Regions from separate parts of the Homo sapiens genome. Here region 1 is linked to region 2. The links are contacts of gene promoters, found by promoter capture Hi-C in blood cells and fetal thymus (Javierre and others, 2016). All regions are on one chromosome and are shown on one strand. The core of a region is centred on a gene start or on the middle of the fragment in contact, and the rest is flanking DNA. Distances in the headings are between cores, read along the strand shown. Region 1 holds the start of SLC17A6 (solute carrier family 17 member 6). Region 2 holds the start of SLC6A5 (solute carrier family 6 member 5).

Region 1 (7,098 bases), core at 2,562-5,061, 1.7 Mb before region 2:
AGTTTGTTTCATTGTGAATATTAAGAATGTTTTGGCTGGGACTGAAGTCCTGGGAAAACTATAATTAATATGCTACACTATTCATCCAAGTAAAACAAACACACTTCTATTTAGACTTAGTGGACATTGCTAGTCACCAACGTCTTGTATTAAGTCACAGTTCACAAAACCTGGTGAGCTAGACCCTCTTTTCCACTTTGCAGTTGAGGAAGGGGAGGCCCAGACAGCAGAGCGAAAAGGGAACTGATAACACTACTGGGGTCCATTCTAGAACGGCAGAGCCAGAGAGGAGCTTAGGGAGCACCCAAACCTTCCTCTCAGTGGCGGGGGAACGGGGCTCAAACAGGAGATGTGGTTTTGCGAGGCCGCATGGCCGAAGGGCAGGAGCCAGGGCGGCCAGACGTTGCCCACCTCCTTGATGACCTTGCCCCCGCGGTGGATGGTGCTGTTGTTGACCATGTCCACAATGGCCACGCCCAGGTTGCAGCGGATACCGAAGGAGATGCAGAAGCCCAGGCCGCTCATGATGGCGATAATGTAGCGGCGGGGCAGGCCGAAGCACGTGCAGTCGCACAGCGGCGCCTTCCTCTCGGGCACCTCTAGGGGCTTCCCATCCTCCGTCAGCTCGATTGTCTCCCCGGTGTCTTGCTTCTTCTCCAGCACCCTGCGCGGCAGAGCAGGGGCGAGTCAAGGACTTGGCGGCTTAGGTACCCCCGATGCTGACCCATTCCCATTTTTCAGGACCCGTCGGGGTTGGGAGGAGGGCCGTCGACCTCCCCCCACCCTCGGGGATTAGGGTGGTGGGGTGACACCAAGCTGCAAGACCTCCCAGGCTCTCTCACATTCTGCAGGTGCCCTTGGCCGCGGCGGCGGCGTCTCTTCAACTTTAACACCTTTAGGCCTAAGGTAGCGAGTCCCCATCTCGGGATCCACCCCTGGGCGCTCTGATTGAGATACACAGGCCGCTTGGGCCTAACTTTCTTGCAGGATCTGCAGGGTCTGCATTTTGTGAGGGCAGGGGTTACCAGCGCCTCCTCTGCACCTGAGTAGGCGCCTCCCACTCCTACACGCGCCCAGCAGGGCTTTACCCTGACTACCGCGGTGTCCTCCTGCAACACAGCACCAGAGAGCTGCTCCGCTGCAGGCGGGCCCAACTAGAGAGCCTTTCCCACCCGCGCTGCCTTTTCCGTTTCTAGCAAGTTGAAGCTTTCCAGGTTGACGATGCTGGTATTCCGCTCCCCAATCCACCCCCTGAGCTGAGCCTGGAGCACCCCCTGGACTAAGGCCTCTCTAGGCTAGTGCCTGTGCGTGAGGAGAAGGCCTGAGAGCTCTCGCTGAGAGTGTCATGCACTCTCCTTCCCCTTCATCCCGCCCCAGGGCTCTAGTTCAATGCTTACTCCCCTGTTACACTTCTTACTATTTTTTTTTTCTTATTACTCGAGTTGGAGACAAAGGGCTCCACAGCATATGGCCGACACCTAAGCTTCCTACTGCCAGAACATGAATAATTAATTATTCACAATCTTGCGTCATTACTATCTCTCTTACAAACACCGAAAAATGTCAAGGGTCCATTTCCCAAGACGCAAAATGCGACTCCCAGATATACAAAGGCTCCCCCAAATCAACTTTTGTAAGATATTCCACATCAAAGGGGAAGATCTCACTTAAATATTTGTTTTTGCATAGTGTTTCATAAGATTTCAACCATCAATTCATTTTTGGCTTTGGTCCTTGGGAGAAGGGACAAATGAAAAGGGGAATGCAGAGAAAAGGAATGGTTTTACTAAAAGGTGGTAGTGTTCTAGTCTACAACATATTCATGAAATTTCTATTAACAACAAACAAACAAAAGGAATGTATAAGGTAACATCTCTGTACGTAGCCCCTTGCGATTGATACTTTCGATATTTAAACAAAGAGCCTTTCCGTTTACAATTTGCAGATATTTTTTCCAATCTACCGTGTAATTGCTTTTCACCTGTGCTGTTTTAAGTGCTATGTGAACACCCAATTGTTTTCACACACACGGGTAAAGCAAGTGAAATTTTTAAACTAATTTCAAATATGCATAGCTTGGAATACTGCTGTCAAGAAGTTTGAGGCCACCCGAAGAAAAATGTCAGGCTTCCGAATTCTATAACGTAGCACCTGGAGAATAAGTCATAAAGGTATTTGTGGCTAGGTTAATGTTTATTCTTAAAGTCCGATCACAATGTTAGAAAACATTGCAATTTATTTTTACTGGGAGAAAAAAATTCAGCCAATGCGGTTTTTTTTTTTCATTTCCTGCATTTGCTTCGTGTGCTCAAATATACGAAGTTGAGCTCTGCACCGGATGGCAGTTGTACTGGGAAAGAACATCCCTTTCCATGGTAGCTGTGGGACTGCAGGGCCCTTGCGGTATCTACTGCCGCATAGGTGCATAATCGTGCCTACATGAAGCCCGCCAAACCTGAAGAGATTTGGAAAATCTGGGAGTGGTTTGATCATTTTCTTTACATTTCTCATGCATTTACAGAGACTTCAATTTCCCAAATATTAAAATTAGTGCTCCTTTGTAATTCTTTTTCCTTTTATGTCTGCCCTGTCGTCTTGATTTTGCTCTAATTATTAAGAAAAGCTGTATCCATATAACATACTTGAAATGATTTAAAGTTTTGCAAATTACAGCATAATTAGTATAGTGACTACAGGAGGATTAAATAATTAAATCATTTCTAGGACTTTCAAAGTAATGTTGCTTGTTATATTTATGGCTGTTCTTCCAGGCATTGACATTTCCTATGCAAGAAATAGACTCTAGGAGATGAAAATAATTAAAAATGCATATACATTGTTTCAGGCTCAGAGAAAGGAATTGCTTCAACTATCAATTATTGATATATTTTGATTCTTCTTCATTCAATACAGAAGACATATTTCACTAGGGGATTCTCTACTATGCTTTTGAAGCTGAGACCTCTCTCTTTCTCTCTCTCTCTAACATATATATATATATATATATATAAAACATATATATATAACATATATATATAACTATATATAACATATATATATAACATATATATATAACATATATATATAACATATATATATAACATATATATATAACATATATATATATATAAACCATTACTCTTTGGAATTTCTTGGTTATTTTTTTAGATGGTTGTGTTTTATATTCATTTGTCTGCATCAAAGGAATTTAATTCGGGGTATCTATAAGCACCAAAAGAAACGCTGTTTGAGCAGGGGCTGGCCATTTCTTAACTGTAAAGAAGATAAATCCTGTGTAGTAAAGGACAAAAACTCTGCAGGCACCAAAGCAAAAATCAAACACACACACACACACACACACACACACACACACACACACCAGACAGGTTCATTTAGTGCAACATTCCTGCATTAATAAGCAGGTTTCCAGAGCACCCCCGCTCCAAGCAATGGGCAACAAAAAGACTTTCCGATCATATTACAATCTTTCTGAGCCACCAGGGTTTACGGAAACGGCCCTGCAGATTTTTTCATGCTGAGCCCCAGGTAAGCAAGTGTTCGCTTTGTCTTACCTGTAGATCTGGCCGAGTGATTTTCCAGCAAAATTCTTTAGCCCCTCTTTTCCTGGGGCCAAAATCCTTTGTTTTACGGATTCCATTCTTGCAAAGACTGTTGTCAGTTCTTGCCAGATTTAAATAGTGATTGCTAGGAAAGGCGAGGATTGCGCATATTGTCTTAATCTCTTAAAGTAGTTGCGGGCTTTTCCTTCTCAGCAGAATGGTAGTGGCTCGCCTCCAGCAAGAGTGAGAGTGAGAGAAGGGAGGGAGAGTGAGAATGAGAATACAACAGAATAGCTGCATGCAACCCACGGGTTTCCTAATAGGAGAGTTGGTAGACACAATCAGAAAGTCTCATTGGAAGGGGAGGATCCGGTGGCAAAGAGCGCAAGCAGTGCCACGGTATTTGGGTAGATGCGGTTGAGTCCTTTTCCTGGAAGTCGGTCAGCTGAAAAACAATGTAAATTCCCGGTTTTGAAGACTTATTGCTCTCAAATCTGATGGCTTTTAAACGGAGGGGCCGGAATATCACAGAAGCCTTGGGAACAGCAAAGTCAAAAGAATGGTACTTTTAAAAATGGTGTCTTTGCTGTAAGGAGCAGAGCATATTCAAAACTCATGGGAGCATCTCAGGTCTCAGGTGAGCAATGCTGCTATTAGTTTTTCCTCTCTGCCCATGATCTCCTCCCATCACGCCAGCGTAAGTCTGCTCTGCGGTAGAGTCAAATTAAGATGGAGAAGGCTTGCTGCTCTTTGAGGACGTGAGTAAATAAAAGATACACAGTTCTGATTTGGGCAGCCTCGGGGAAGATTTTTTTTTTCAGCGGCTGACAGCGCCCGTCTGGGCGGGTCTCGGTACAATGTTTCAGCACCACGGACAGAGTAAGTTTCAGGAATAGGGGACTCTTCTTTTGGCTAGCTAGGTTGCCAACTTTCTAGGGGAGCTGGGCGGATCGCCCTGACCAAGGACCATACGGGGGCTCTTCAGGAACGGATGCTATGGAAACCATTGGGAAGATGTCATCATCTCCAGAGTTTGCAGGGAGAATGGTGCATTTAGCTCTGCTAGGGAAGACAACTTTATTAAAAATTCACAAGTTACTTCTAGTTTGCTACGTTTTGTCCAGCACGCTGATGCCAGTATTGCAGGGAAGAAAGATTTCAACATATTTAACTTATGCTTGTGGTGTTCCAAGACACCTAGGCTCCCTTGAATATAAAATATGTGCACACAAAATACATAATTACATTGTTCATGTGTTTGTTTTAACTCCTGACAGGAAAAAGATGAAAGAAAGAAAGGGAGAGAATGAAGAATAGAGGAAAGGAGAGATAAAGAAAAAGAGGTGGGAGGTATGGAGAGAAGAAAAAAGAATAGCTATAAACTCAGTGAAGTTGATTAAATAAAATACAGTTAATTTAATATAAATTCCTTGGAATTTTAAGCATCTTTATTTAACTAATTTACAATACACTACTGAAATACCAATATACTGATGAAATATGTGGCTATACCTTGTGCTTGCCAACAAATTGTAATTGATAATTTAAAGATTTATTTTTAAAAAGATTTATTTTAATTTACATATATTCCATTCAAATCTTATTTTATTTTTCTTTGTATGTCCTTCTCCTAAAGCATAAATTTTGAAAGACATTCATGTAAGAGTTTTGGCTTTATATATACAGGTACAGCATCAATGAATTTATCTCATTAAGCAAGCAAGAAAACTGCTAGATTAATGTAAATTATTAATCTCTTTCACATGAATCACAAACTTCTTAAGTACAATTCAGGCCAATGCTTACAGAACAGACTGGCCTTGAACCACATTTTCAAGGTCAAAACCTTGGATGTCACATAAGCCAACAGAGGGAGTCAATTTTACTTAGGATCCTGAGACAAAATCTCAAAAATATGGATCTAAATTGAGAATCAAATAAGAATATTACCTGAATAGTTCAAATGATATAATGGCTATGTATTCACTGAATGGATAGCTGGAAAAAAATGTCAAAGTAGCTAAAACCATCTGCCATTATTAAGTTTGATAGTTGTCAAATTATTTCCATTGTGAAATATAATAAAGAAAAGGATAATGAAGACATTTTTATCTTTTTTGATAAATTTGTGTTAAAATATGTATCTTCAATAAAACAGTGAATTTAATTTTTCTCTAAAACCATGGGATGCCTCAGAATACTATCTATTTCTCAAGATCAAGTATAAGGAGACAAAAAAAAAACCCTCATTAAACTATTTCCTTGCAAAAAAAAAAAGAAAAGAAAAAGATTAAAAGATTCAAGCTATTCAGGACTTGACTTATCTAGGTGTTTTCAAAATATCTGTATTTTTCAAATCTTTAATAACTAAGTTCATTAAATTATATTTATTTAGAGATATTAATGATTTTGGAATTCTGGGAAGTTATACAAAAAAATAGAATTTACAACAAATATTTGTGAAGCTGGGGTGATGATATGTAAATGATTTTCCTAAGCACTCCAGCTTAAGTTGCACCACAAATGACTAGAGATCTATCTAAACCATCAGTAAACATGATAGCTAAGTCTCCAATACACAAATATGAGGGGACACTAAGCAATATAAATCCAACACAAAAGCATTGTTTTTAAACAGTTATATTCACCTTTATTGAAATGAATGTCATCCTCCTCTCTCTTCCACTCTCTTGATAATAGGGTGAGCAACTGAATCAGAATAACTGGTAATATTGATTTACTCATTCTAAAAATATTCATTGAGTGTCAAGAATAATACTAGATCTGGGAATTCTCCCTGAAATATCTCACAAGCTACTTGGGAGATAGACACAAAAATACAATTTCAAACAATTATGGGTGAAATTACACAAGTTAAATAACCCAGCCCGGGAGTGAAAATGTCCAGAATATATTTCAAGAGACAATGTTTTCTTGTCTGTCTTAATAGTTAAAAGAAATGTAGTTCTATAAAGATGATGGCAGCCCAGTGGAGTTTGGCAGGGTGGAGTGGTGGTATTTGGATAGCACCCTAGCCAGAAGGGGTGTATTTAATGGTATTTTCATAAACAATGAAAAATGTTATGTGTGGAAAATTACAAGAAACGTTACTAGACCACCTGCGACTGAAGAATGTCATTTAGGCTGGCTTTAAACCCATAGCTGCTCCCAGTGTAAGAAACATATATTCAGACACCATTTGCTAACCCAACAGATTTTCTTCATGAGTGGACACAAATTGCAAACGCTGAACGTGTACTTTTGCAGCCCTAAATTCATCAGATTTATCTTTATGCAAAGAAACACTAGTAGTTATATGTAAGATATTAATTTAAGCATATCAGAAAAGGCTTCCTTTCTCTTGACACCCTCCTTTATCCCCAATAACTTACATCCAATTATAACAAGTCCTGAATTGCATTATTAGACCACTTTTCTTCTAGGGGAAGAATTGTCCCTCTTGTCAAGAACTGTTAACAATAAAAGGAGAAGTTTTCACTGAATATAACTAATATAATATGTGTGCAATATTACAATT
Region 2 (6,837 bases), core at 2,419-4,918:
GACACTGCACAAAGCTTTCCAGGCACTCAGGCCAACACACAGTTTCCACCTTCTCAGTCACCCTTCACCTCCTATTGTAGTAACTTGCTAGGTCTCATACTTTTCTACAGGGTGTGCAGGACACAGCAGCAGCTGTCAGGAGAAGTCTTAGGGAGAGAGAAAGGGCCAGGGTGAGTGTCAGAAAGGCACAATCAGAAAGATGGACAGGGCTGAAAATAAGTACTTCCAGAAACCAAACATCTTTAACATCCTCCCTCTAATCCTCCCACACACAGACCACCTCCATTCCTAATCCCACCCTTCAATCCTTCCAGGGCTGCAAAGGGTGGGAGTTCCAGCTCCTTCTGCCGCAGTGCGGAGGTTAAGCAAGACAAGTGAAACAAATATTCTGCTCCACCTGGGGTCACACTGTGGGATACATGCTGTCAGAGGCAGATAATATACATAGAAAAACACTCCGGATGTGGACCCCGAAAGGAAAGGCAAGTGGGAGATTCTATGTTTATTTCTAGTTCTGACACCACAAGCTCCTGCTATGTGGGCCTGTGGATAAGTGTGAATGTGTATGTGTGTGTGTGTGTGTGCAAACACTAAAGTGACTAAGGATAGAAGGGTTGTATAAATCCTAAACCTCACACAGGCACAAATTTTGGTCCAGGCCCCACTGCTGGATATATGCATAGCCCCTGAGGCCAGGAAAGGAGAGGAAATAGCAGAAAGGCAGGCAGTGAGAAGGGAAGAGCTGAAGTTGATGAAAAAGGACAGAAGAAAGAAGAGATCAGAGAAGGAAGGAGAGAGACGAGAGGGAAATTGAAGAGAACAAAAGCCTATATGAGAGAGTGGGCCACCAGCAAAAGCTGCCTTTATTCATAACCCAAGGATTGGGATTTGCTCTGTGGGTTTTTCACGCCTCTAATTAAGTAGTAAAGGATCAAATGCAAGAGGGGATTAAGATTGGTGGGGCTTGAAGCTTATACAATTGAGGGAGGTTACTTTAGGGAAAAAAATAGAAAATTATGGCAAAAGTAGACACCAGGTTTTGGAAGGACCCAGGCAAAGGACAGGCCCCAAAACTAAAGCTTCAGTAGCCTCAGGTAAACCCACCTCGCATCAAATGAGTTCTCATGTAATAAAGGTAACTGGCAGTGTAAAGGCTACAAAACTTAAACTATTATCCTCCTACCCCTCCATCCCCAGCCACCACCACGTGGCTTTGTTCTGAATTTTAACCCTCTTTTTGTTTAATTAAGAAATTATTTTTGAAAAGAAAAGACAGTCATTGGCAGGAGAGGGAGTCTGTCTGCATAAAAGGGTGGAATCTATCTTCCTCAACTCTTTCGTGGATCTGGACCTGTATTCCCGCTACCGCCAAGGCTGGGAAGGGGCAGGTCGTGGCCCCTCTGGCAGGGTCACTGCAGCCCTCGCGCCCTGAACTGCCGACCCCAGCGCAGTGCGAGCTTCCGAAGCCCCAAAGCCGCCTCCCGCATCCATCACCTGGCACTGCCAACCGGTTTCCCCATCAGCATACGTGCACCCGCCACGGCCCGGCTGGCCTCTCTCGCGCAGCTGGAGAGCAGGACACTGTGCGGGCCGTAATGCAACCTGCTTACCTGGGTGGCAACGGTGGCCACGCTGCCCGGGAGCACGGACGTGATTCCATCCGTGGCCAGCACCACGGTGCTCTGGCTCATGTTCACCCAGCCCACAACAGGGGTATTGTTCCGCTCCAGGGTGCCCTTGCCCACACTCACGTTCGCATCCCCCTCCGGGCCTCGCAGAAAAGGGATCTTACAGTGCAGCGCGTTGCCGGGCCCGGAGCTCCCGGGAGGGGGCGAGGCCTGCGCGCCTTGCGCCTCTCTCAAGTCCCGCAGAGCTGCAGAGGCCGCCTGCGCCCGCGGGCTACTGAGTTTGCAAGACCCCACTCCTGGCCGCTCAGCCTCGCAGGCTCGCGCGTCCGCTGACTGGAAAGTTTGGGCGCCGGTGGAAGCGGACCTGGGCACACGTGGCGGCGGCGGGGCGGCAGCCGCGGGAAGCTCCTGCTCCGGGCTCGTCCTGGGAGCGCATGGGCCATCCGGGTGGCCCTGCGCCGCCGCCGCCTCCGGGCTGTTGGCTGGCAGTTTATTCATTTCCTTGGGAGCACTGCAATCCTGCAAACACAATGTCAAGTTCGTGCAAAACAAAGTCACAACAGCTTTTAAAATACCTGTATCTAGATATGGAGACGTTCGCAACTCAGGTCCAGACACAATATCTGGGGAAGCAAATTGGAATCTGAACTTTTTTTAAAAGAAAGGCTGCAATCAGTATTTCTCAATTTGCCCGTTTCATCAATAACCAGATGACAAAAAGAAGCTAATATTCCCTCCCTAGTGGAGGATGAACTAAGAAAAGAGGTAGAAATGTAATTTTGTAAGGGTAAAGGGGGAATGGAAATAGCCCTGGAGTCATGAGCTCCCCTCCCTCTTTGGATTCCACATCACAGCTGTGGGTGCCCGCATCCCCATCACCACTGTAGAAAGATTCTTTAATTTTCCGCCCCATTTCCTTTGTCATTCAACAATGCACACTGCCTTTTTCCCCCATAGACAAGCTGTGGCCACAAAGCTGATGCCCTGGCACCTGCGAGCGCTTGAGGCCAAATTGGTTGAGTCCCAGCGCTCCACAACCCACCTCCTCCCGCCAGGTAGCAAAGACAAGGTTAAGAATCACGATCAAAATAACCACAAAAAAACCTACAACGATAATAAACTAAATTTAAGACACAGAGTAGTAACTAGATTTGTTATCTTACACAACTCGTATTCACTTCCAGATTCCCAGACATGGAAAAGAATATGCAAAGCTTTTTGTTCTTTTGTTTAGGTCTTCTTCTTCTTCTTCTTCTTCTTCTTCTTCTTCTTCTTCTTCTTCTTCTTCTTCTTCTTCTTCTTCTTCTTCTTCCTCTTCTTCTTTTTTGCGTAACTATTCACAGGAGTCTAATATCCTTCACAACTCTAAGCTTGCTTGAGTACCAAAACTCATGACTAATTTTTATTCGCTTTTTCCCAATTCACTTTCAAATGAAAAGAACTGCCAGCGGTGGTTTTTCTATCCACTTTCTCCCCTCGTGTTATCTTTCACGGCTTCCTAAACATTAGCACCAATAATTATTATTACACTGTAAGAATAATCCTATTATCTTCGCCTCCACCGCACTCCTCTCGTCTAACCCCCTTTCACAAACACGCAGAATAGAACTCCTCGATTTGCACAAATCTAGGTACCTCGGCTTCAGCCAGCATTTGTCTCAGTAGCCTCTAGGACCCAGAGCAACTCGCCTCTGTACCGGCATCTGGCTTTTCAGCACCGAGGACAGTGCCCGGGATCGGGTCTTTAGGAGCCACAGCCAACCTCTCAGCTCTACAGCCTAGGAAACCTCTTTGCGACCTCAGGTGACGCTCACAAGTACAAATACCTAGGGCTGCGAGAATTGTTCTCCTCGTCGCCCCCTTTCCCCCCACCCAATGCACAGACATCTCCAAAAGAAATAGCCAAAACGAATCTGCTTTCCCTGTCCCCTCAGCCCCCTTTCCTCTTGAAAGAACAAAAGCAAACACTCACCATGTCTGACACAGGCAACAGACTGAACTGGTGGAGGGTGAAACCCGCTATTGACAAGACTGGGTTTGGCTCAGGCAGGAGAGGCGCTTTCTATATCTCCTTGGGAAAGGCCGGGTTTGCGTCAGTGCAAAGCAAGGTGCCCTTGGTTTGACATTTTCTTGATAATACAAGTTTGATAAATCATTACCCCCTTGGATTCAAGTTTTAAAGGGACAACAGCCTAGAGTATGCTGGCCAGTTGTCACTCCAGCGGGAGGGGGCTGCGTGTTTGGCGTGACTCATGTGGTCTGATTACTAAACCGAAACCGGCAGGAGGGGAAGACAGAAGTTTGCCTCCTCCTAATTAAGGGAAACATGGGAGGGACACGTCCCACTGCACCCAAGGCAAGGCGCAGCCGCCAACAGAGTGGATCGGGCTGTAGAGGAGGAAGGAGGGGGTTAAATCACTGTCTATTCTTTCCCTTTCACTAGATTCCATTGCTGTCCCCCCTTATCTTCAGGGATTCCGAAAATATTACTCCGAAAGAGGTTGAGGGTCTGCGCATAGCCCCACAGCTCTGCGATGACTGAAGCAGGCATGGGTCCTGCATTTATCAAGGTGTACCTACCTAGCATGTATGTGGACTTCAGATTCTCACATCCCTACCCTTCCAGACAGTCAGTCTTGGAGGAATCCTGGGGTTTTTGCTTAAAAATTGTGATCTGGTATTTCCGTTCCTATTTCTGTTATCACAATCAAGAGAAAATTCTGAGTATAACTGACCTTTTTCATTGTATTTTTAAGCTTTTCTGAAGACGTTTTAGAGAAAGAAAAACGAAGTTTTTCCAACACAGACCTAGTTCTTAGGTCACTTTCAAAGTCAAGGGAAACCCATTCTTTCTTTACAGTCCTTTCAATAAAATCCTACAAGAGCCAGGCCTGATTTGGCAGCGCGGGACCTTAGAGACCGTCCAAATCGGGATGCCCAGCAATGCGGGGGAGGGGGAATGAGAGCTGGCAATCTGCAAAGCCATGCCAGGATGTTCAACCGTACTGTGGCGGGGATGGGAGTGGGGGTGGCCATGGCGATAAAAAGATGGACTTTCTTGTTGTGTGTACAATGCAATAGCTATAATCAGAAGAGGAAAAAACGCCTTTACAAAGAAGGTGTAGTTTGGAGACTAGAAGGGGATTATCAGCAAAATGCTTCCCTTCTCTCCTTCCTTGCCGGTCTAGCTCGGGGAACCCCTGGCCTCGGGGATGAGGAGCCACAGACAGCACGTTTTCCCTTCCCTACTGCCAACAGCCCAGCCCACTGCCTCGGGGTGCGCGCCGTCGCCAGCGGCTGGGCCGTCCCACGCGGCGGGAGGACAATGCCGCGGCGGCCGCGGCCGCAGGCGTAGGCTGCAGTGGCAGATTGCGGCGGGCGCCGGGGGCACTAAGGGGCACCCTCCTGCTCCTCTGGAGAGCCCGAGAGTGTTTGGATGCCTCCGCTGGTTGGCTTTCCCGCCTAGCCCCTCTAAAGGGCAGCTGGCTGGGGACACACGGTCTGCATTGCCTTTGGTGGGGGCAGGAGGAGGAGATCTTTCTTTTGAGACGCCTTGAGGATTTCAGGTCGCTTTTTATTGCAGTTTTGAGCTAACGTCTATTGAGATCTCAATACTCAACCATTGTGCAAGGGATATCCATGAATTATCTCGGTTAGATTTAGCAATGGCCTTTCAGAAACTATACCAATTGCAAAGCTGAGGAAATTGGGGCTCAGAAAGTCGCTTTTGAACCCTGGAGAAGATCCCAACCACCTCCCGCCGGGCTGTCGCTAGGGTCAGTCGCTCTCTCCCCGGGGCCCGCTCGTAGGGAGAGGTCGGGAACGAGGGTTAAGAGGGTAGGGTGGGCTGTGGTGGACTCTGGCTGGAGGAGGGTCGTCTGAGTGGGTGGGACTGAGAATTCCGCAGGGGTGCCTGCTCAAGTTCCGGCTGGCGCTGAGAAGCACCCCGCAGGCTCTTGGCATCTTGGGGGACGCCAAGGGGACCTACGAGTGTTTCTGCCTAAACAGTCCCCAGTTTCCGAGAGGGCTCAAGACGAATGCGAGAACTGTAGAAGGCAGGCCTGGCAGGCAGGCTCGGGCTCAGAGAGCGATCGGCCGGAGCGGTACCACGAGGCGGGCCCAAAGATCGGTGTAGGCCTCCCTCTGCGGTTCCCCGGCCGACTTCCCCGAGGGACAGTCACGACTTTGGAAGGTTCTGGCCAGTTTCCCAATTTGCATTTGAGCAGCCCCCGCAAAGGGCCAGGTGCGAATGGAGAGTCTACGCGGCGCCCGGACGTTCCAGGGCGCACAGACTTGGCTGCCCCGGGAGGAAGGGAGAACTGCGCAGAGTGGGCAGAATCCTGCCGGCCTTCTCACTTCCCCCAGCTGCGGCCCTGGGCCTGAGTGACGCCCAGCGCCCCCGCTCAGCCCCCAGGCCTGATATTTCGCCCGCTGGCCCTCCCCGGCCCAGTGAGCACTTGGGTTCCGGCGTGGAGACTGCCGCGCGTCAGGCTCTGCAGAGGCGGGTGACGCGCAGGAACGGCTGCGGGGTTTGGCTGAGGCGCTATTCGGGCTCCCCGCCTGCCCCCACTTTCAGCCGCAAGATTCTAGAAGGGAGGGGCTACGTGGAGAATGGAGGGAGGGTCTGGAACGGAGAGGCCTAAGAGGGTTCGCTATGAGGCCAACGCTGGGACGGAGGGGCGGGCATCAGCAGGGCTTGAAGGTTGGGCTTCAGGGGCGGGAGAGAGCATGCGGAGGCAGGAAGCCAGGCCCTGGGGCAGCAGGTCGTGCGTATGGGTGTGTGTCAGCGCCTACGAAGCGCAGAGGATGGAACCGCAGTATTAAAAAACAAAAACAAAAAAAAAGAAGAAGAAGAAGAAGAAGACCAGCCGCACGTCCTCTAGACGCGGGCCTCCGCCCCCGCCCTCCGCGGACGCCTGTTTATAGTGATAATCAGGCCCAGCGCGCCGCAGCCAAGGAGGCCGTAAATCCGCATCCATCACCGCGCAGCCATTCGGTCTGAATTAGCCAGTCACTACGGCCTTAATTACTTTGTCAAAGATGAAAAATAGTAATTGATTTTGTCCTCGATCACTTTGTTCCCTCCTCTCCTGCCTTGCAGATAAGCAAATAAATATTTTTGAAAACTCGTGTCCACTCGGTTGTATGGGGGTAGCCTTCTGAAAAACAGGCCATCCGGTGACAGTCCTGACGCCAGTGTTACTGCCAA

What was found. The method cuts DNA at HindIII sites, captures the fragments that hold promoters and counts their contacts. A CHiCAGO score of 5 or more calls a contact.
Region 1: the fragment with the promoter of SLC17A6 here is called in contact with the fragment with the promoter of SLC6A5 in region 2 in 1 of 17 cell types (M2 macrophages); the score reaches 5.8 in M2 macrophages.

Annotation. Positions count from the first base shown.
Region 1 is chr11:22,335,094-22,342,191 of GRCh38, reverse strand. SLC17A6 (solute carrier family 17 member 6) reads right to left here and starts at 3,811. Exons shown (of 12, transcript NM_020346.3): 1 at 3,573-3,811; 2 at 412-664. The coding sequence starts at 3,658. It overlaps SLC17A6-DT (SLC17A6 divergent transcript), which reads left to right and starts at 3,970. Exons shown (of 4, transcript NR_186351.1): 1 at 3,970-4,197. The HindIII fragment of the contact is 7,348 bases long and covers 1,486-7,098 here.
Region 2 is chr11:20,596,439-20,603,275 of GRCh38, reverse strand. It overlaps SLC6A5 (solute carrier family 6 member 5), which reads right to left and starts at 3,668. Exons shown (of 16, transcript NM_004211.5): 1 at 3,601-3,668; 2 at 1,611-2,147. The coding sequence starts at 3,603. The HindIII fragment of the contact is 1,386 bases long and covers 3,001-4,386 here.